Regions from separate parts of the Homo sapiens genome. Here regions 1, 2, 3, 4 and 6 are each linked to region 5. Evidence: promoter capture Hi-C in human tissues and cell types (Jung and others, 2019). All regions are on one chromosome and are shown on one strand. The core of a region is centred on a gene start or on the middle of the fragment in contact, and the rest is flanking DNA. Distances in the headings are between cores, read along the strand shown. Region 1 overlaps ABCA3 (ATP binding cassette subfamily A member 3). Region 2 holds the start of ECI1 (enoyl-CoA delta isomerase 1). Region 3 holds the start of RNPS1 (RNA binding protein with serine rich domain 1). Region 4 holds the start of CCNF (cyclin F). Region 5 holds the start of SRRM2 (serine/arginine repetitive matrix 2). Region 6 has its middle 29 kb from the start of ABCA3.

Region 1 (3,600 bases), core at 1,026-3,525, 460 kb after region 5:
CCTCCACCTCCTGGGTTCAAGTGTTCTCCTGCCTCTGCCTTCTGAGTAGCTGGGACTACAGGCACCTGCTACCACACGTGGCTAATTTTTTATGTTTTTAATAGCGACAGGTTTCACCATGTTGACTAGACTGGTATCGAACTCCTGATCTCAGGTGATCCGCCCGCCTTGGCGTCCCAAAGTGCTGGGGTTACAGGTGTGAGGCACTGTGCCTGGCCGAGGGGGGGTGATGCTTTAGGAACAAATTATCTAGAAAGTCACTGAGAAGTGACTCATAATGCTGGGTCTGTTTTTCAGGTTTGAAGGTCTCTTTGCTAAACTGGAGAAGAAGCAGAAAGAGCTGGGCATTGCCAGCTTTGGGGCATCCATCACCACCATGGAGGAAGTCTTCCTTCGGTCAGTAAATGCGCATTTCCGTCCACCTAGGACTGGGCTCCGTGCTGCAGAGGACTTTTTTTTTTTGAGATGGAGTTTCACTCTAGTTGCCCAGGCTGGAGTGCAGTGGTGCGATCTCGGCTCACCGCAACCTCCGCCTCCTGGGTTCAAGAGATTCTCCTGCCTCAGCCTCCCGAGTAGCTGGGATTACAGGCATGTGCCACCACACCCAGCTAATTTTGTATTTTTAGTAGAGATGGGTTTTCTCCATGTTGGTCAGGCTGGTCTCAAACTCCTGACCTCAGGTGATCCGCCCACCTTGGCCTCCCAAAGTGCTGGTATTACAGGCGTGAGGCACCGTGCTCAGCCGAGGACTTCTAAAAAGTGCAGTGATAAACAGTCACCTCGGTTATGATCTCAAATGCCCACGTGAGGCTGGAGGAACAGCCTGGGGTGGGGCGGGCAGTGGCCGCCGTCAGAGCCCCAAGTGCAGATTGTGACTGTCAGCAACATTGGTGTGCGTGGGAAACGGCGGCACACGTGAGGGGCCTGCACTGCCTTGGGGTCCCTCCTAGACCCGCCACGGGTCTAGCTGGCACACGGCGTCAGAGGCGTGCCCAGCTCTTCTTGGGCTTAGATCGTCCTTGGGAGATACCTGTGTCGTTAATGAAGATGGGAACTATCTCATCCAGACCCTCAGAACTGCATGGGGGCTGGGCGTGGTGGCTCACGCCTGTCATCCCAGCACTTTGGGAGGCCGAGGCAGGCGATCACTTGAGCCAAGGAGTTTGAGACTAGCCTGGTCAACATGGTGAAATCCCATCTCTTTTTTTTTGAGACAGAGTCTCACTCTGTCTCCCAGGCTGGAGTGCAGTGGTGCAATCTCAGCTCACTGCAACCTCTGCCTCCCAGATTCAAGCGATTCTCCTGCCTCAGCCTCAGTAGCTGGGACTGCAGGCGCACGTCATTACGCCCAGCTAGTTTTTTTGTATTTTTAACAGAGATGGGGTTTTGCCATGCTGGTCTGGAACTCCTGACCTCAGGTGACCCACCTGAAGATCTGTGCTGGGATTACAGGCGTGAGCCACCACCCCCAGCCACCATCTCTACTAAAACTACAAAAATTAGCCGGGCATGGTGGCACACACCTGTAATCTCAGCTACTTGGGAGGCTGAGGCAGGAGAATCAATTGAACCTGGGAAGTGGAGGTTGCAGTGAGCTGAGATTGTGCCACTGCACTCCACCCTGGGGGACAGAGCAAAACCCTGTGTCAAAAGAAAAAGAAAAAAACGTGAGATAGGTTTTCCTCCTTAGGGAGCCCACAGCCTAGAGGAGGCGACAGAATAGGTGATCATACATGCAGGACATGGTGGTGCATGCTCTGGGGACACCTGTGCAGGGGACCATGTGTCCAGGAACAGACCCAGGGAAAAAGGCCAGGCAAGGCGGCGGAGGGAGGGAGGGACTGCCCGCTGACCTGTGTCCCACACAGGACCGAGCACTGACTGACTGATTCTGTGAATCCTGGTTGAAGGAAGGAAGGAAGCATGAACATAACAGAAAGAAACCACGGGCTGGCCTGGAGTCAGCCGGCTCTGAGGGTAGAACCCGGGTTGATCCTGCTGCGTCTCAGCAGCCACAGGGCCTCTTGTCTCTCAAGGTCTCAGGCCTCTCTGGCCCCATCTCATACTCACCACACGGCCCACCTGTGACTCAGCTCCAGGCCCCACACCTGACCCTGGCCTCTCTGAGCTCCTGGTCTCAAGAGAAAAATAATCAGAAGCTTTTCCTGGTTTGTCTAGGACCTGGGGAGAGCTAGCCAGGCTGGTAAGCGCCCACCGGAGCTCAGACCATGGGCAGGAAGGCTTTTAATCAGAGGGAATACTGACGAGATGGCAACACTTGGTGTCTCTGAGCAGATCATGAAAGATGAGTGGGACTGGGAGAATCCAGTGAGGGAGAAGGGCTCTGCCAAGGGCCAGAGGAGCAGGTACTTAGGCCTCACGGCAGCCTGCACACAGGAGCAAGAAGCAGGCAGACAGGGCTCACACGGGCTCCAAGTGTGGCCTGACAATGTTGCTAAGCCAGCCGGGGGGTGCCTCCTGCCTGCTGCAGCCTCAGTTGTGTTTCCTAATCGGCGGGGAGCTCTAGGAAGGGGTGTGTGTGTGTGTGTGTGTGTGTGTGTGTGTGTGTGTGTGATGTAATTCACATAATATTAAAAAATCACCTCCTCTGCCAGCCTTGGTGGTTCATGCCTGTAATCCCAGCACTTTGAGAGGCCAAGGTGGGTGGATCACTTGAGGTCAGGAGTTCCAGATCAGCCTGGCCAACATGGTGAAACCCTATGTCTACTAAAAATACAAAAATTAGCTGTGCATGGTGGCCGGAGACACTGATGAGTGAGGAAACACATAAGCAGATGCATGAGCAAGCCAAGGACTGCGGCAACACTGCTCCCCTCAGTGCCTCTAACCATAGTCCCTCCCTCCACCCACCCGGGGAGCTGGGTCCTGACCGGTCCCTGTGTGTATCGGCACAGGGTCGGGAAGCTGGTGGACAGCAGTATGGACATCCAGGCCATCCAGCTCCCTGCCCTGCAGTACCAGCACGAGAGGCGCGCCAGCGACTGGGCTGTGGACAGCAACCTCTGTGGGGCCATGGACCCCTCCGACGGCATTGGAGCCCTCATCGAGGAGGAGCGCACCGCTGTCAAGCTCAACACTGGGGTGAGTGCCCAGGTGGGTGGGCGGGTGGCGGGGGAAGGGCGAGCAGCCCCCAAACGCCTCATGTAAGCCCATGCAGAGGAGAGTCTGCGAGGGCGCAAACAGGGTCCGGGAGAGTCAGCACACCGGGCAGAGGGCGGGCAGCGGCTCACACCGCATGGGTCGGCAGGGAGAAGCGTTTGAATGGAGCAACTGGAATTTCTCATGCTCTACCTCAGGCACAGCACCCTGCTCAACAGGAGCTTGTCGGGTGCCCAGCTCTGTGTTGATGAGGCTCTCTAGCAGCCAACGACACGGAGGTTGGTTGATGCACTCGGTTCACAGATGGGAAACCGAGGCCTGGGCCAAAGTCAGATGTGACAGAGTCACAGAGCTCATTCTGATCCCTGGTCAGCCTGATCTCAAAGCCCTGACGCTCTCTGTCTCGGAGGACCAGGAAGGAAAGAAGCTGGAGAACGAGGCAGTCAGGCTGGTTGGGAGGCTCGGCCATCTGTTTCCTGT
Region 2 (3,580 bases), core at 6-2,505, 500 kb after region 5:
CTTCAGTGTCCAGAGTAGCAGGGGCTAATTTTTTTTTAATTTTTTAATTTTTTTTTTGAGACAGTCTCTGTTGCCTGGGTTGGAGTGCAGTGGCGCAATATTGGCTCACTACAACCTCTGCCTCCTGGGTTCAAGTGATTTTCCTGCCTCAGCCTCCTGAGTAGCTGGAATTACAGGCACCTGCCACCATGCCCAGCTAATTTTTTGTATTTCTAGTAGAGACGGCGTTTCATCATATTGGCCCGGCTGGTCTCAAACTCCTGACCTCATGATTTGCCCACCTTGGCCCCCAAAGTGCTGGGATTACAGGCATGAGCCACCGCGCCCAGCAGCAGGAGCTAATTTTTAAGAATTTTTTGTAGCAACAAGTTGTTGCTATGTTACCCAGCTGGTCCTGAGTCACTGGGGTTACAGGTGTGTGTCACCATGCCAGGCTTGCTTCCTCCTCCGTTAAGTGGCCATTTTTCCACCTCAAAAATTGGTTTGGGACACAAGGAAGAATTGGAAATGCTTAAGATGAGAACAAAAGTTGAGACCACCCAACACAGCTGGGACCTTACTGCCCAGTGCTCCCAGTGGTCTGACCAAAACCCCACACCAGACAGTACAAAGGCCCACTCCCGAGCTGCCGCTTACGGCCCAGCGGGAACAGACTGTATTCTTATCTTTCGGCATTTCTCTGCAAATAAAAAGGTGCCACTGCGGTCCGGCCTTTGTGCACTTGCCCTTGTGCTGAGCAAGGCGGGTGGCCTGTTCTTACCGCTGGGTTCTGCTGCCCCCACCCCCATTTCGGTGACTAAACCTGCAGCTCTGATCCTGTTCCCAAAGGGGCAGGAGGCCGGGCTCACCCCAGGCAGCCCCTGGCCTCCCTGACGGCCCCCTCGGGAGGGGTTCCGTGCTTTGATCGCCTTTCCAGCGCCGATACTGCAGTAGCTGGGCCCGGCCGAGAGCTCGCGGTCACGAACACCGGCAGCCTCTTGCCTACAGTGTCCCGCGCTGTAGAAGAGCCTGCCCTGGCGCTGAGCTGGTCGTGGCTGCTTCAGCAGTGGGCCTGCGCCTCCTTGTAGGCCAGCCCTGGCCCAGATCCAGGTGCCTGCCCCGGAAGCGCGCGGCTGCCCGGGGTGAAGCCGGAGGGCGGCGAGCGGCTGTTTCGGCCGGTAGGTGGAGGCGTTGACCAGCCTCTGGGAACGGGGCGGGACCTAGTTGGGGGGGCTCCGCCCCCTCCCCAGGAGGCGAGCTCAGCCCGCGACCTTTATCCCGCGCGTTGCGGTCAAGATGGCGCTGGTGGCTTCTGTGCGAGTCCCGGCGCGCGTTCTGCTCCGCGCGGGTGCGAAACCCGGGGTGGGCAGGGATCGGGCCGGGGCCGGGGCCAGGACCGGGAACTAACGGGCTCCCCCACGCTGCCTTCGCAGGGGCCCGGCTCCCGGGCGCGGCCCTCGGGCGGACGGAGCGGGCGGCCGGCGGCGGAGACGGCGCGCGGCGCTTCGGGAGCCAGCGGGTGCTGGTGGAGCCGGACGCGGGCGCAGGTGAGCGGGCGGCGCCGAGGGAGGGCGGGCGTGGGGTCAGGACCCGCGGGGGTCCGCGCTCGCGGGGTGCTGTCGGAGAACCACGTCTGTCGACGCTCGGTTTGTGTTTAGAACCCAAGTTTCGAAACAGAACCTTGCCGCTCTACCTGGGTTCGTTCGTCATGAGATAAAAGTTTCTGTTTTTAAAGTTGGCGGAGGCCGGGCGCGGTGGCTCACGCCTGTAATCCTAGCACTTTAAGAGGCAGAGGCGGGCGGATCACCTGAGGTCAGGAGTTCGAGATCAGCCTGGCCAACATGATGAAACCCTATCTGTACTGAAAAATACAAAAGAAAAAAATTAGCTGGGCGTGGTGGTGCGTGCCTATGCCTGGGAGGCTGAGGCAGAAGAATCGCTGGAATCTGGGAGGTGGAGGCTGCAGTGAGCCGAGATTGTGCCACTGCACTCCAGCTTGGGCCACAGAGCAAGATTCCGTCTCAAAATAAATAAATAAATAAAAATAAAGTTGGCGGGGATATGAGCTGTTATCTAAGTTATTCAATTGGAAGTGGAAAAGAATTGGAATCTTTTGGAATAAAATTACGTTTGTTAACACTCCCATGTGGCACAGAACCTCGTACCTACCCGCCCGTCAGAACCCTTGGTAAAACCCACTGGAAAGGATAGAAAAAGTACTTTTGGAAGAGAAGCCTGTGCGCTCCCTCCAGACAGGAGGCCGAGCTGAGGGCACCGAGAGGGCACGCCTAGGCGCCAGCAGTTCTGCTTCCAGGACATGCTGACCTGGACCTCCCGGTGCAGCAGTCCCTGCTGTGGCTCCTGAGAGGAGGCCCTCCCCCTCCGCAAGTAAGTCACAGCCCCTGCCCTCCCCAACCCCCCAGACTCAGGGCTGTGCCCAACTTTGCACAGCTTCAGGACTCCAGGCTCCTGGTGCCTCTGAACTTGGTTCCGTCCTCTCTGTCTGGGCTGAGGGAGCTGCCTGGGCTCTCTCTACAAACTTGAGAGGGACAAACTAAGACCAACTTCAAACTGACTTTTTTTTTTTTTTTTTTTTTTTTTGGAGATGTAGTCTTGCTCTCCAGTCGCCAGACTGGAGTGCAGTGGCGCAATCTCCGATCACTGCAACCTGTGCCTCCTGGGTTCAAGCGATTCTCCCTCCTCAGCCTCCCAAATAGCTGGGATTACAGGGACCCACCACTATGCCCACTAATTTTTGTAAAAACTGAGTTTCTGAAGGGATCATTTCTGTAGCATATTTGAATATATCTCAACAAAATGCAAAAAAAAAAATTATTATTTTTTTTTTTTTGAGACAGAGGCTCCCTCTGTCACCCAGGCTGGCGTGCAATGGCGCGGTTCCGGCTCACTGCAATCTCAGTCAGGCCTGACTTTCTGACTCCAAACTCTACTTTGTCTTTTTTTTTTTTTTTTTTTTTTTTTTTTTGAGACGGAGTCTTGCTCTGTCGCCAGGCTGGAGTGCAGTGGCACGATCTCCGCTCACTGCAAGCTCCGCCTCCCGGGTTCACACCATTCTTCTACCTCAGCCGCCCAAGTAGCTGGGACTACAGGCGCCCGCCACCACGCCCGGCTAATTTTTTTTTTTTGGTATTTTTAGTGGAGACGGGGTTTCACCATGTTAGCCAGGATGGTCTTGATCTCCTGACCTCGTGATCCACCCGCCTCGGCCTCCCAAAGTGCTGGGATTACAGGCGTGAGCCACCGCGCCCGGCTTACGTTGTCTTTTTATATGGTAAAGTGGGGAGGCACTCGAGTAAAAAAATTGTCATTGTACGAACACTTTTCCTTTTTTACCGGAGGTAATGTGTGTGTGTGTGTACATAAAAATCTTTAAAATATGCCTCACATTTACCATTCTAGCCATTTTGCAATGTACAACCCCGTGGCCGTAAGTATATTCACAATGTGTAGTCCACACTACCCATTCCAATACCTTAAGATAACATGTTTTTGAGTCCGGGCCCGGTGGCTCCCACCTGTAATCCCAGCACTTTGGGAGGCCAGGGTGCGCGGATCACGAGGTCAGGAGATTGAGACCATT
Region 3 (3,770 bases), core at 176-2,675, 480 kb after region 5:
CACGAAGCTGTTCAGACAAAGTCTGAAGCTCAGCGCACCGTCAATCCCTCCACAAATAACCACAGGGCAACGACTGCCTGACAGGCACAGCAGAGAACAAAACCCGCCCTCGGCCGGGGGCGGTGGCTCACGCCTGTAATCCCAGCACTTTGGGACGCCCAGGAGCGAGCACTTTGGGAGGCCAAGGCGAACCTAGGAGCGGATCACGAGGTCAGGAGTTCTCGACCAGTCTGGCCAACATAGTGAAACCCTGTCTCTACCAGAAAAATACAAAAAAAATTAGCCGGGTGTGGTAGTGTGCGCCTGTAATCCCAGCTACTCGGGAGGCTGAGGCAGGAGAATCGCTTGAACCCGGGAGGCGGAGGTTGCAGTGAGCCGAGATCGCGCCGCTGCACTCCAGCCTGGGCAACAGTGCGAGACTCTGTCAAAAAAAAAAAAAAATCCGCCCCGTCAGTGTGGGGAGTTGACGCGGAGCCTCCTGCCTGCACCCCTACAGCGTCACCCCCTCCTCTGTCCCTGCCAGAGGCGCCACCTCTGGACTCTCCCAGGGTCGGACCCTGGTCGACAGTGCTCCCTGCCCGGACCCTGCACCGGCCGATGGATGAAGCCTCGGCGCTGCGCCGTTCACACGCTCCGTGCCGCTGCCGCGAAGCTCGCGCGGGCCTGCGAGCCGGTACCCGGGCCTCCCTTCCCTGCTTCCAGCGAACCTCGGCGCCTGCTGTTCCCCCGCCGGGCGCGCCCTTCCATTCGGGTCTCAGCGGCAGTGTCACCTCCCCGGAGAGGCCCGCCGTTGCACCCCATCTCCCACTCTCAAGCTCGTCGCTCTTCCTGCCCGCACAGCCCGCCTGCCGCGCCCACCCGGTGGAGGTCCGCCTGCCGGGAGGCCGCGTCCACGGGAACACCCCAAACGCCACCAGTGGATTTTGACCGCACGAACGCACGCCCTGCCCCAGCCCGTCTCTCCGAGCTACTTCCGCCCTGCGGGCCCCCACGCCCCGCCACGCACGGCCGCAGAGCCTGCGAACCCCTCCTGTGCTACCACCCCGCCGGCCTCAGCACAGCCCGGCCCGGAGCCCCGCCTCCACCGCCGGCGACAGGGGCCGGAGTCTGCCCGGGCGGGCCCAGTGCGCCCGCGCAAGGAAAGGGGCGGGGCACGGGCGCGTTAACACCCTCCGCGCCGGAGGACGAGCCTCGGTCATCGCGCTGCCCTCCCAGGTTCAACAGGCTACCCATGTGCCCGCTCCAGTAAGCGTGCAACCAGCCCGGTCAGTCCCAGGGACTTTACCGGCTAGGAGACACCTTGAACGTCCCCAGCGCGACTCCCACAAACTGCCTTGACTCTTTAACGCTTCCTCGCTGGCGCCCATTGGGCCAGGCGTTTACGTCATCGCTGCGCGCCGGGCGGCGGCGACTTCCCGCTCCTTGACTCTGACGTCAGAGCGGCGCCGGCCTCGGCGGCTGAGGAAAGCAGGAGGAGGTGGCGGCGGCGGGAAGATGTAAGTTGGGGCGGAATCCGACTGCATCCGTGTTTCGGGGGCTGCCCGGCAGGCCCGGCAGGACGCCTCGTGAAGCCGGTCCACTCCTCAGCCCCGCAGTGCGGCGGTGGCCTGGCAGCGCGGTGCGGGCTCCGAGAAGAAAGAGTGTGGCCCGGGGCGGGCGGAGTGGGAGGTGTCGAGGCCGTGGCCCGGAAGTGGTCGGGGCCGCTGCGGACGGAAGGGCGCCTGTGCTTCGTCCGCTCGGCGGTGGCCCAGCCAGGCCCGCGGGACTCAGACCAGCGGGGAGCGCGGCCTCCGCCCTTGGGGCCCTCCCGCCGGGCCGGAGACCCAAGCCCCCAACGCCAGGCCCTGCCCTGGAAGCGCTCGCGGCCCGGCGCCTGGACGGGGGAGTTGTGAGTGAACGCGGACGGGTAGCGGCGAGGTCGGCGTGTCGGGCCGGTGTCGGCGGGCGCGGAGTTTCTTTGTGGGATGCGGTGGAAGGTCGGCCGATCCCCCCTTCGGAGTCATTAATTCAAACGTGTACTCCGCGAACGTTTCCCGGACTCCCGTGTGCAATTATCGGCGCTAGGCCGTGGGGATACGGCCCACTATGGACCGAGCACGGTGGCCGAGCTCAGTTTGATGGGTTACCCCAGAGGGGCGGATACGGGAAGGTTAAGTTTGTTGGAGGAGAAACGTGGAGTAGGCTTTTTGTCTTGATTCCGCATGAACTGTGCCTGAAATGTACTTTTAAATGGGGAAGGTGCTCTGAAGATTTGTGCCGAAACGCCCTCTCCTCGAGATTTAACTAATTGTTCTCTCCTCTCTCTGGCTGTTGGACGCGCACCTTTCCGGAGGATGGGGGAGGTAACCGAGGTCCTGAGCCGGTACCTGAACTTGGGTGAACAGAGAACCTCAACTTTTGCTTTCTAGCACTCGACCGCACCCAGCAAGGCGTCCGCTTACTCAGTGGTTCTTAGTGTTTGGAGTGCTTAAGAATAACTGGTGGTGTTTGATTTCACCAAGTACATTCGGGCAGATCTTAGTTCTTGGGGGGGTGGGGCTGGAATCTGCGGGTGTGACCTCCACTCTAGGTCTGTGCTGTCCAGCCAAGTAGCCATTGGCCACATGTGGCTGCTAAGCATGTGAAATACAGCTAATCAAGACTGAAATATTAAAACACACACCAGTTTTAGAAGACTAGGAAAAAAGCAAACTTTTATTAGATGTTTATGTTGATTATATGTTGGAAAGATAATATTTTGGATGTGTCAAACGTTAAAAATTAATTTCACCCATTTTTGTGACGTGGCTACTAAGGAATTTCAGGTGATGCTTGTGGCTCCTCACACGGTTTCTATTGGACAGTGCTGCTGCAGGTGATTCGAAGGCGGGTGGGTGCAGGAACCCAGCTGAGAGTTCAGAAATTAGTGTAACTTTGGAGACAAGTGTCTGTGGGGGAAGGAGCCTCCGGACGTGGAGATACAACTCTTGCTCCTAACATTTATCGAGTCTTTAATTAATGCCCTGGGTAACTATAAGGTTGGAACTGTAATTGTCACCATATTGATGATGAGAAACTTGAGAAAGGATAAGTGACTTGTCTAAAATCACACAGTAAAACCTCAAATCAAACCCAGGCCCTCTGGCTCCAGACTCTAAATTATACTCTGAATGATACTCACTGATTGTCCGAGGACACAAAGAGTGTCGAGGCACTATCTGCTGGGTGTCTGCAGAACCTTACTGTTCTAAAGCAAAACATTTTACCCCTGGACAAGAGCAGCAAAGGTGGCGTTCGGCCCTCCTTGGCTCTCATTTGACTGTTCAAAGCCAGGTGCTTTTCTTTCTTGGGTCAGAACGTATTTTCAGCAGCATTTTGAAGCACCCCTGGCGTGCACTGCACAGGGAAACCAGGACCACATTGGTGTGCTGTGTCCTCCTTACCAACTGGCTCTTGGAGAAGGTGAGACAGAAGTAGCTGAGACTCCATTCCTGAGATCTTCACTTAACAACTCCTGCAGCTTGTGCAGAGCCTTACTAGAAATACTGAAGGCAGAAGTCCCTGGAAAATAGGGCCCATAACTAATTAGTAATTTGTTTTTGAGTAATTTGTTACCGTTATTTGAGCACATTCTGCAGTCCAGGCATTTTGCTAAACTCTTACATGGCAGGCAGTCTCTCACGCAATTTCAATGCCTACTTTTTTTCTCCATCTTATTTTTGAAAAATGTTAAAAAAAACACAGGAAGGTCGAGTTATACAGTTAATACTCACATAAAGACCACTTAAGGG
Region 4 (3,642 bases), core at 1,053-3,552, 320 kb after region 5:
TAAAGAAAGCATCTGGTAATGATATCATCCTTGTTTCCTTTTTGCCCTCCTTTTTTTTTTTTTTTTTTTGAGACAGAGTCTCGCTCTGTCGCCCAGGCTGGAGTGCAATGATGTGATCTCGGCTCACTGCAAGCTCTGCCTCCCAGGTTCAAGCAATTTTCCCGCCTCAGCCTCCCTAGTAGCTGGGATTACAGGCGTGAGACACCACGCCCGGCTAATTTTTGTATTTTTAGTAGAGATGGGGGTTTTGCCAAGTTGGCCAGGCTGGTCTGGAACTCCTGACCTCAGGTGATCCACCCCCCTTCGGCCTCCCAAAGTGCTAGGATTAAGGCATGAGCCACCGTGCCTGGCCTCTGCCCCAACCTCTTTTTTAGCCAAAGTTTTGTTCTGACAGTTAAGAACACAAGGCCTGATGGTATAATCAACAATGCTAGGGCTCATAGTGTTTTCATGCAGGGACTTACAGCTCGGACGGCCAGGATGTCCTCTACAGAAAGCCATTTCAGGATGTGAAAGAGCACATCTTCGGGGAGACTCAAGATGGTCAGGTTTCGGGGCCTCCTCCTTATTCTTCGCTTTGTAGGATAACAGAAACACTTGGCACACCTACAGTGGACCACTGAAGGAAAAAAAGACAGAAGCCTTGATAAGATGAAAAATTATTCTATATACACACCCTTGAAGGGAAAAAAAAAGGATAAAAGTTACATCTGAAGATGATCTAATGGTTACTATTCCCTGTGCCACAAAAGATGGAACTATGCTTCTTGTCCCAAACAAAGATTATGTAAAGGAGTGGCATTGCACAAATTACAGAAGAGATCATTCATTTTCAAATATTCAACAAATATTTATGGCAAATAGCGCATGTCATGTAACTTGGCTATTGGGAAACTTTCTGATCCAGAGCCCACATGACAGGCAGGAAGGGGAAAAAGCTGCCGAAGCTGAGGACGGTTTTCCTTCTATTTCACTCTCAGGAAAACTCCTGGGGCCTTTGCTGGATAGCTTTGCTTTTTGCACACGTGACCAAGGTGCATAATGTTCAATAAAGATCTGTGGGCTTGAAGAGTCTGGTTTTCAAGTCCAAATTAGAAGGGTCGGCCCTGGAGAGAAGCCACAGACTTGGAGGCCGGGGCAGTGTGCGTCCAAGTCTCAGCTCTGCAGAGTCTCAGTGTGCCCTCTATTGTAGAATGCGGAGTTGACAGCTACGCAGTAAGGTTGTTGCTCAGGTCCCAACACAAACCTAGACCTGTAGGTTTGTGTACAGATGCAATCATTAAAGGTGAGACGGGCATTCCACCCACCAGGCAGGCAGCCCGGACATGCTTCTCAGATGTGCTCTCTCCTCTTCCCACAGCCGGATTTTCCAACTCCTACTCCAGCAACCCCTTCCTCACTCTAAGCAGATGACCTTAGCCCTTATTTCACAGGGAAACAGAAGCCCTCAGACAGGAACCTCAGGATCCTGCCTCCCCATCTACAAATCTACCTTTCTATCCATCCTTCCTTCCAGTCCTGAAAGGAAGCGCCACTCCCCTCTGTGGGCCCAAATCCCTCCCCGCCTTGCTAGGACTTCCTAGCGATTGCTCCCGGCTCCCCTCTCTTGACCGGGGTCTTCCTGTTAGCAATTAAATCAGCTGCAAAAGCCAAACGTATTCCAGGGCGACGAATTCTCAAAGATTCTATAGACCTCTCCATAAAATATTCCTCATTCTCCGGCTCCAGGACAGATACTATGATAATAGCTGAAACCACAGTTCGTGTTTCCTGTGCCTCAACGCGCGCGGGGCCGAACGCTGCTTTCCACAGAGCTAGGTCCACGGCCCCGCTGGACTGAGGCTCGGTCAGGGCCCGGCCGGGCTGCGGGATCGCTTCGCCCCCACGCGCTCCGCAGCCCTTTCCCCGACCAGGAGGCGCTGGTGTTTGGCTCCCCGAGACCCGATCGCCGCCCCGGGACCCGATCGCCGGATCGCTGCCCCGGGACCCGATCGTTGCCCCAGGAAAGGGCCGGAAAACGTCGCCGCGGGGGAAGGCTCCGAGGGGCTCGGGCGCCCGCCGGGCATTTAAACCGCGCGCCCGGCCGCCGGGGCTCCCTGCGCGGGACGCGACATCCGCCCCGGGTTAAAGAGCTCGAGCCAGCCCTCTTCAGGCCGCCAGGGCCTCCCCTCCCGCGGGACCCACCGTCCGCCCCGCAGGGCAGGCAGAAGGGGTGTGGGGCAGAAACCAGCGGACATCGCCCCGCACTCACCGCCGCCGCTCCCCATCGCCGCGCTCGCGTCGCTGCCGCCGGAGCCCGCCTGAGAGCGCGCCCGCGCCCCGGCCGGAGCGCGCGTAGCCCTCGCGCAGGCGCAGACCCCGCCCCGCCGCCCACCCCAGTTTTCAAACGCACCCGGCCCTCCCATTGGCCTGCCCGGGGGGGCCGCCGCCGGCCCCGCCCATGTCCCGCCCTGTGCTCGCCTCATTTACCGCCCTCCACGCCCTCCCCGCCTGCTCCGGGACCCGCCATTGGCCGCGCCAGGACGCGAATTCGAACATTGGCCGCTGATTGGTGGAACCCGCGTGGCCGCCCCGCCTCCCCAACGGGGCTGGGGTCCCGTAGGAGCGCTTCCCGGCCGGCGGGCAGGGGTTTGTGGGCGTCCCCTCCCGGCCGCATGGGTTCGGGCTTCGCCGCTGACCCCGGCGACCGGCATCTGCGGTGCCAGATGGGCTGCGAAGGCGCACGCCTGCGGCCAGGGGAAAGAGGACTCCTTGGCGTCCCTCGCAGTCGCGGCCGTGATCCAGCCTGGGACAGCCTCGACGTGGCGCTTCTAAGACGAGGCCGTGCCCTGCCCGGGTCCCGGGGTCGCTCCTGGGCCCGCGACCCTCACCCCCAGCTTGCACGGCCTTCCCTTCCGCCGCCTGCTTCAGGTGGAGACCCTTGGGTTTGTGGCTGAGCCGCTGCTGGGCGGGGATGCTGGCCGGGATCGTGGTAGAGAAAGAGGAGGTCGGAGCTGACGCTGGGAAGTCTCCCCCGCGGAACGCTGACCCCTTCTTCCCGCGAAACGTGGCGCACCCTGGACGCCTCAGTGCTCCAGCCCCGGGGCAAGCCCTCCCCATCACTTTGGCCAGATGCTGCCCCCTGTCTGGCCTCCTCGGCTGCTACCTGGAGCTGCTCGCCGCGGGAAGTGTCGTATCTGCTCACTCTTGTCTTGGGCAGTGCCCATCTGAGCTGTCCTTCAGGAGTCAGCCACACCGCACCCCTTTTACGGCACAGGCTGTCAAGGGGAAGACTCGCAGCCTCCTGACTGTCTGGTGGAGGACAGAGGGGGCTTTTCCTGGGGAAGGCAGGGGCCTGGGCCAAGGCTGCCCACCCCTCCCTCACGCTTCCCTCAGTCTGCACCCTTCCATCCTTCCGGGTCCCCATAGAACTCCTTCAAGTACTGGGCCTGCCCTGGGCACACAGACAGGAGCCCTGGCGTGCAGGCTTCAGCCGGCCTGGGGCAAGAGACAGAGTAAACAGGTGATCACAGCACAGGGTACAGAAGAGTCCGTGGCCCCAGAGAGGGTCTGGAAGTTGGGAATATTCCCTGTCCCGGAATCAGGAAGCGGGTGAAGGAGGGTGAAGAGAGGACAGGCTGAGCGAGTTTGGGGCCTGCTCCC
Region 5 (3,435 bases), core at 693-3,192:
GGTGGCTCACGCCTGTAACACCTGCACTTTGGGAGGCCGAGGTGGGCGGATCACCAGATCAGGAGATTGACACCAGCCTGGCCAACACGGTGAAACTCCATCTCTACCAAAAATACAAAAATTAGCTGGGCGGCGGCGATTGCCTGTAATCTCAGCAACTCCAGAGGCTGAAGCAGGAGAATCGCTTGAACCCGGGAGGCGGAAGGTTGCAGTGAGCCGAGATCGCGCCACTGCACTCCGGCCTGCCAACAGAGCTAGACTCCGTCTCGGAAAAAAAAAAAAAAGAAAAACCAGTAGGTGCTAAGCAAAGGATATTAGGTCACAATGTTTCGGAGAACTTTTAGGGAATGAGCCACCTAGTCCACCCCACAAAAAAAGACGACGACCCCACGGCATCTAAGGGGTGTGTTAAGACACAGAAAGTAGGAAGATCAACACCACACACAAATCACCAAACCAAACGATATTACAAAACTCTTAAAGTGGGGGCCATAGACAGTGGATATGCAAAAGTTACCCAAGTTAAAAGCAGAAAGTAAAAAGTACAAAGGAAGACAAAAACACCCTTTTCTGTTGGGAAATTATCCGAGTGGTAAGCTAACAATGAAGTAGAAAGATATATTTGAATTCAACAGTAAAATATGCAAAAAAGAAAACGGTACCAAAAGGGGAGAAAAAGGGGAGACAAGGGTTGTCGAAAAAAATGGACATCAGCAAGCACAGCCAGCTCAGCACCGGGGCGCTCCAGAGCGGCTGAGTGGACACAAAGAACCCAGAAAGCTAAAATAGTAGCTTTAGAAGAGCCCTAAGCCCACGCACTTAGGATGAAAGACAACACAACACTCTGAAATTCTGATCCAGATTCGTCCTAACTGAAGCCGAGTGGAAACCAAGCTTCAGAAGAGCTGTGTGCCAAAGAACGCCTGAAACCAACCAGAAAACTTATATATGAGTCTGGCGTTTTCTTCCCAACGAAGGTCTCCAAAAGCCTCCTTAGTTTGAACACGAATTCTCGGGAGACGTTGAAAAAGTGTAAAAAGGGAACGCACGGTCTACCTTACAAATGTAAACTGAACACGTTCACTTTCTTCACAGTTTTTAAGATTTGGGGTTTCTCCCCGCCACTAACAACTCAAAGGCTGATAGCCGGGAATCCTAAACCATTTAAATCCGGCCCACGAAGTTCAAGGCCCTCCCCGCAGCGCCGGGGGCCTATTTTCGGCCTTGCGGAATGGGGGAGGGGGCTGCGCGGCGTCCCGCAGTCTGGGAGGCCCCCGACACGGGCAGCCCAACGCCGAAGAGAAGCCCGAGGAAAGGAGATCTGGAACCGGGGGCAAGGGTCCAGGAGCAAGCCCCCCGCCGCCGCCCCTTCCCCGCCACTTAAGGGCCGAAAACGGCAGCTGCAGGAAGGCCACCTCGGCGGCACATGTTGGGGGGAGGAGTGAAGCCGAGGCGCGCGCCCTCCCCCCTCACCAAGGGCGCTCGCGAACCCGAGTACAGGCGGCTGCGAACGCCGTTGTCATGGGGGAGGGGCGGGGGGGGGTGAAGCCCGCGCGCGACAGGAACGGCGGGAAGGGGGAAGGGAGGCGAGGGCGTCCGCGCCAGCGAAGGGCGTCGAGCGCGCGTGCGCGCGGAGGAGCTCGGCGGCCTGGGCAGTTCTCCGCGCGCTTTGGCCTCGCGCCGGGGCCGCCGCCCCTCCCCCACCCGGCTCGCTGGCTCCCTCACCCTCTCACCCGCCGCCTCCGCCCGCCGCCTCCGAGGGGGAGAGGTCTTGCCGCCGCCGCTGCTCGAGCTCCCGAGTCCCTCGGGCCTGGGGCCGCCGCCTCGCCTCGCCGGTCCGCCCGCCTCAGCCGACGCCGACGCCTCCTCGCTTCCTCAGGGGCCGCAACGGGCTCCAACTGCGCCACTCGCACCCCGCCTGGGCCGCGCTGCACGTCAGCACGACTAACTGCGTGCGTCAGCACGCAAACGCGCGTCGCGGGGCCTGCCGGGAACTGGAGTGCGCCCCGCGGCCTTTTGCGCAGGCGCCGAAGCCACACCGCGAAGTACCGTTTTTTCAGGCACAAGGAAGGTTTCACCCCGTTGCCGAAAGACTAAGCGTCCCGTTGGCCAGTGCAACGAAGAACGGAGGAAGCGACGTAAGACACCGCGTATTCGTAGGCCTTCCGCTGCGGGGAGGAGCACAGGGCCTAGCGGCAGCAAAGCGACGCCCGAGCGCGTCTCGTCTCCCGCTGTCGATGCAGAGCATTCTGGGAGTTGTGGTTCGGGCGTGTCGCGGAGCCCGGATGTAATTTCGGCTCGGGGCGTGGCGGCCATTTTGTCTCCCCATGTTGGGAGACGATATCCCAGCCGCGGTGGTGCTGCCGCTTTCGTGTGACTTTGGGTTTCCCGAGCGAGCCCGCAGCTGCACAGCAGTCCGCCTTCCCGTACCCGAGAGAAGCCGCCTCAGACCCCAGCCAGCGGGCACCCCCGGAGGCCCCGAGCCTGGCTGCAGGCCCTAGACCTGCACCAGGGGCCCAACCAGTTACCCGTAGCATGGGCCACGTTCTCCCGCTGTAGACCGGGCTGAGGCCCGACGGCCACCCCTGGGGGAGGAGTTTTCTTAGCTTCCGGTAGGGCAGCCAGGCCGGGGTCCCACCAGACCCAGGACGTGATACCGGTGAAGCGGCACATACAGGAACAAGGCAGGAGGAAAATAATAAGCACCTTAAAGTTTCCACTTTTCGGTACCGTACTTCCTGTTAATGTTTCTAAGCCCGTGATTCTGGGCCTGATAATCAGCCAGCCGTCCTCACAGCAGAGTTGTAAGACGCTGGGCTGCTCAAGCACAAGTTCATATCTAGACCCACCGCTGGCGAGCAGCCCTGGACGTCCCGCTTAGCTGTCCTAACCAACTCAGGTGGCCTTGATCCGCAACAGGACGCGGTACCACGTAATGAACTGTCCATTTGAGTGCAAGGATTTATATTTGTTATTACGATTTGGGGGTGTTTTTAAGAGGCAGGGTTTTGCCCAGGCTGTTCTCGAATTTGGGGCTCAAGCGATCCTCCGACCTCAGCCTCCCAAGTAGCTGGGACTACCCGTGCATGACACCCTATCTGGCCCTTGTTTTTTGTTGTTGTTGTTGTTCTTTCTTTTTTCACGTGGTTTCGCACTTGTCACCCAGGCTGGAGTGCAATGGTGTGTTGTCGGCTCACTGCAACCTGTCTCTCAGGTTGAAGTGATTCTCGTGTCTCAGTCTTCCGAGTAGCTGGGATTACAGGCGTGTGCCACCACGCCTGGCTAATTTTTGTATTTTTAGTAAAGACGGGGCTTCACTATATTGGTCAGGCTGGTCTCGATTTCCTGACCTCAGGTGATCTGCCCACCTCAGCCTCCCAAAGTGCTGATATTACAGGCGTGAGCCACCACGCCCGGCCCGTATCCGGCTTTAAG
Region 6 (3,444 bases), core at 274-2,773, 380 kb after region 5:
GTGGGAGCATGTGCTGGGATCCCTACAGGTCAGCCTTCAGGGCATCAAGCAAGGTGGTGAATAGTGAAGGGTAGATCTCTTATCATGAGTCATTCCACAAGCATTTTTCAAACACCTACCTAGTGGGAGGCAGTGTGCTGACCAACCAGGAATGACCAGGCTGGACATTCTCAGACTAAAGGCAAGGATTCATGTAATAACAGAGGTGGGATCACCTAGATTGCAAGCAAGTTAAAATTGTGAACAACCTTCCAAGTTCCAACTCACCTTGGAAGTTGCTTGGACACCTAAGCAACCTCCTTTTGGCTTCATTCCTATTCTGGTCATTTTTCATTAGCAGCTTCCCCATACCCCTGTCCCAGGAGAGGCATACACTTGAAGTATCTGGGGTTACCTTCAGTCTTTTCTCTTTCTCCAGTACAATGGAACTGATGATGATGAGCTCAATGTACATGAAGCTGAGTATGAAGAACACAGAAAACTCATTCTGAAGGACTAGGAAGAACCTGTCCTCGATATAGGGTCCATATGGGAATCTCTTCACAAGTACATTGAGATTCTCAAACATGTTGGTCATTGCATTGTGAGCATGGTACCACATGATGGCTTTATCCACAGCATACTGTATGGCCAGGAAGCCTTCTTTGTTGTATCCTATGAGAAAATAGTGAATATCAAGAAATTAAGGTCAGGAGTTCGAGACCAGCCTGGCCAATATGGTGAAACCCCATCTCTACTAAGAATACAAAAATTAGCTGGGTGTGGTGGTGCATGCCTAAAGTCCCAGCTACTCGGGAGGCTGAGGCAGAATTGCTTGAACCTGGTGGGAGGCAGAGGTTGCAGTGAGCTGAGATTGCGCCACTGCATTCCAGCCTGGGCAACAGAGGGAGATTCCATCTCAAAAAAAAAAAAAAAAAAGAAAGAAAGAAAGAAAGAAAAAGAAAAAAGAAAGAAAGTATAAAGATACAACAACTGGTGTTTCAGACGGATCATGGCTAGGCATTCATAGAGACAGACAGCGGTAGGAAAGGCATCCCTAGAGTCCTCACTACAGTGTGGAAGAAAGAGAGGAAAGTCACAAGGGAGACCCCTGGAGCTGAGGGTAATGCATATATGATCCAAAAATGGGGTAAAGGAGCCTGGGCAGGCAAAATAAAAGATGTCCAATACAAGAATCTTTTGAGGTGGGACCACATCTCCTCCCCTTAGTATTCAGACTTCAGGGAAAGAGCACCTCTTCTGCAGTTTTGATCACACAGCACGTATGAGATGGTTAAACTCAAAGCACTCATATGAGATGGTTAAACTCAAAGCACTTGAAAGACACAGCCTCCCTAACCTGTTGTGACCTACTTCTGAATTGTTACCGCTGTTGGGTTTATGGTCAGTGAATTTTACTACTAAGTCTCAAAAACAGTCCTTATCACAAGCAACACTCATTTCAATACAGCATAGTTGGCATGATGGGGTCAGCTTTCAGGAAAAATAGGCTGAAAGGCAAAGATTCCTGGTTCTGGGGTCCTCTAAGAGATAACAGCCCCACCTCCAAGCAATGGTTACCAGGCTCCAACATGAGCAAAGCCAAGGTGGGGTACCTCAACCCCCTCCCAGGAGTAGAGGTGGCTATGGTCTTCAGATGGCCTAGACCTAGGCAGACTCTCAGATCTGTCCAGGAAAAAGAAGGAACAAATTGTTGGTAATAAATTCTCAGAATGGTTACATATTCTTGATTGTGTGTAGGAGTATTTTCACTGCAGAACTGCTGGATCTTTTCTAGAATTATGCAAAACTGTAAGTACTCGGACTTGGACTCTCACTTAGTGTGCACAAAGGCCTGAGGCTTCAAGCCAATATTTGAGCCATTCTACAACAGATGTAGATTACCAGCTTAATTTTCTAAGAAAAGTTAGTTGCCTAGAGGATGTTCACCCTAAACCCCTCACAAAAAGGAAGACCAAAAAATCTAAAGTGAATGGGAGAGCATGAGTCTTTCAAGAGCGGATTGGCCCATGGGCCTTCAGTCGGGAATGTGATGCTTATTGTGAAGGACAGAGGATGCACAGGTGTCAGTGTTGCCCCAGTACTTCTCTAGGAACCTGGGGTTGCCAGAAGCGAGAGTTGGGCAACGCAGGCAGATCCAGGGAGTACTGGGTGCCAAGTTTTAGGTGTTTGCTCTGTCAGGTGCAGTTAGACCCCTTTGCATGGGAGAGAGCAAGCAGATGCAAAGCAGCCACTCAGCAAGGCTCTCTCCTTCACCCTCAACAGAGGGTGACAGAGCAGAAAGTCAGCATGGCTCCCCAAGAAGAGAGGACTATGGCAGCCAGGAGTCAGGACCTGGCTTTGGGACCACATGCCAGCCCTTGGGACAAATAGGAACTCCTGGAAAAACTCCAACCTTCTGGCATTAATTTTCTGTCCTCTTATCCTGAATGACAGACAGGGAAAAGGAGATTTTCCCAGACTAGAAATGCAGATAGGGAGATTCATGAGAGGGAAAGGGAGAGGGCCAGCCAAGACCAAGAGGCCTGAAGAACAGGAACTGGGATTCTGCACCAGTGTTGCAGATGGGGCAGGGAGGATGGAATAAGAATCAAGGCAAGATCTAAAAGCATCAGTCAGAGTAAATAAAATCAAAGTGAAGCATCAGCCAATGAACAGGCCAGAAAGAGTTCAGGGATTCCCCCAAAGCAGGAACAGACTCTTTGGAGCTGCACAGACATGCAGAGAGTCCCAAGAGTGTGGATGATTATCTTCTGTTTCTTCTTCATTAAATTAAATGAGACGGATGAAATGCAAAGGATACAGTCAGTGGAGATTGTAATGGAGGCATGTTAGACATAGATCATACAATATGACATGCGTGTTGAACAGGACATGTGTTTAAAAAGATAGAATAGGGCCAAAAGTGGTGGCTCATGCCTGTAATCCCAGTAGTTTGGGAGGCCGAGGTGGGCGGATCACCTGAGGTCAGGAGTTCGAGATCAGCCTGGCCAACATGGTGAAACCCTATCTCTACTAAAAACACAAAAAATTAGCCAGGTGTGATGGTGGGCACTTGTAATCCCAGCTACTCAGGAGGCTGAGACAGGAGAATCGCTTGAACCTGGGAGGTAGAGATTGCAGTGAGCCGAGATTGTGCCATTGCACTCCAGCCTGGACAACAAGAATGAAACTCCATCTCAAAATAAAATAAAATAACCAAATAGGAGTGGTATTTGCAGGTGGAAAAGGGAAGCCGAGAAAATCTTAAACATGCATAAAGCACAGATCATGTTTCCTCCATGATGACAAATGTCACTGCTAAATTGGCCACCCACTGGTCCCTGCACTCCTTGTTCCAGTAAAATGTTTCCATCCTTCCTCCAAACAATTCAATATTGTTACAATCAAATCCATAACTACTGTTTTTACTTGCTCTAGAATGTAAGCAGTTTACTGAATGTC

The links. Contacts are between HindIII fragments. The study calls those that stand out against the background at their distance.
Region 1: a fragment that was not itself captured here is called in contact with the fragment with the promoter of SRRM2 in region 5 in 1 of the 25 tissues and cell types used here (spleen).
Region 2: the fragment with the promoter of ECI1 here is called in contact with the fragment with the promoter of SRRM2 in region 5 in 1 of the 25 tissues and cell types used here (lymphoblastoid cells).
Region 3: a contact is called between the fragment with the promoter of RNPS1 here and the fragment with the promoter of SRRM2 in region 5, in 1 of the 25 tissues and cell types used here (mesenchymal stem cells).
Region 4: a contact is called between the fragment with the promoter of CCNF here and the fragment with the promoter of SRRM2 in region 5, in 6 of the 25 tissues and cell types used here (hippocampus, liver, lymphoblastoid cells and 3 more).
Region 6: a fragment that was not itself captured here is called in contact with the fragment with the promoter of SRRM2 in region 5 in 2 of the 25 tissues and cell types used here (lymphoblastoid cells and thymus).

What each region holds. Positions count from the first base shown.
Region 1 is chr16:2,288,936-2,292,535 of GRCh38, reverse strand. It overlaps ABCA3 (ATP binding cassette subfamily A member 3), which reads left to right. Exons shown (of 33, transcript NM_001089.3): 19 at 298-396; 20 at 2,916-3,102. Among named protein-coding and RNA genes, the nearest start is that of MIR4717, 16 kb to the right of the region's middle. The HindIII fragment of the contact is 8,847 bases long and covers 1-3,600 here.
Region 2 is chr16:2,249,262-2,252,841 of GRCh38, reverse strand. ECI1 (enoyl-CoA delta isomerase 1) reads left to right here and starts at 1,255. Exons shown (of 7, transcript NM_001919.4): 1 at 1,255-1,327; 2 at 1,413-1,526. The coding sequence starts at 1,276. It overlaps LOC107984839 (a long non-coding RNA gene), which reads right to left and starts at 1,172. Exons shown (of 2, transcript XR_001752052.2): 1 at 849-1,172. RefSeq lists enhancers at 804-863, 1,794-1,923 and a silencer at 1,114-1,583. The HindIII fragment of the contact is 14,026 bases long and covers 1-2,546 here.
Region 3 is chr16:2,265,781-2,269,550 of GRCh38, reverse strand. RNPS1 (RNA binding protein with serine rich domain 1) reads left to right here and starts at 1,425. Exons shown (of 8, transcript NM_080594.4): 1 at 1,425-1,496. It overlaps MIR3677HG (MIR3677 and MIR940 host gene), which reads right to left and starts at 888. Exons shown (of 3, transcript NR_132988.1): 1 at 708-888. RefSeq lists a silencer at 778-1,227 and an enhancer at 1,358-1,617. The HindIII fragment of the contact is 10,724 bases long and covers 1-3,770 here.
Region 4 is chr16:2,428,107-2,431,748 of GRCh38, reverse strand. CCNF (cyclin F) reads right to left here and starts at 2,302. Exons shown (of 17, transcript NM_001761.3): 1 at 2,252-2,302; 2 at 465-619. The coding sequence starts at 2,267. RefSeq lists silencers at 1,927-1,976, 1,987-2,836 and enhancers at 3,047-3,226, 2,662-3,241. The HindIII fragment of the contact is 14,340 bases long and covers 1-3,642 here.
Region 5 is chr16:2,751,145-2,754,579 of GRCh38, reverse strand. SRRM2 (serine/arginine repetitive matrix 2) reads right to left here and starts at 1,942. Exons shown (of 15, transcript NM_016333.4): 1 at 1,734-1,942. SRRM2-AS1 (SRRM2 antisense RNA 1) reads left to right here and starts at 1,980. Exons shown (of 6, transcript NR_027275.1): 1 at 1,980-2,138. RefSeq lists enhancers at 534-1,376, 1,377-2,219, 2,101-2,390, 2,451-2,620, 2,220-3,062 and silencers at 1,531-1,590, 1,611-1,920. The HindIII fragment of the contact is 13,386 bases long and covers 1-3,435 here.
Region 6 is chr16:2,367,548-2,370,991 of GRCh38, reverse strand. It overlaps the pseudogene ABCA17P. Among named protein-coding and RNA genes, the nearest start is that of ABCA3, 29 kb to the right of the region's middle. The HindIII fragment of the contact is 6,058 bases long and covers 1-3,444 here.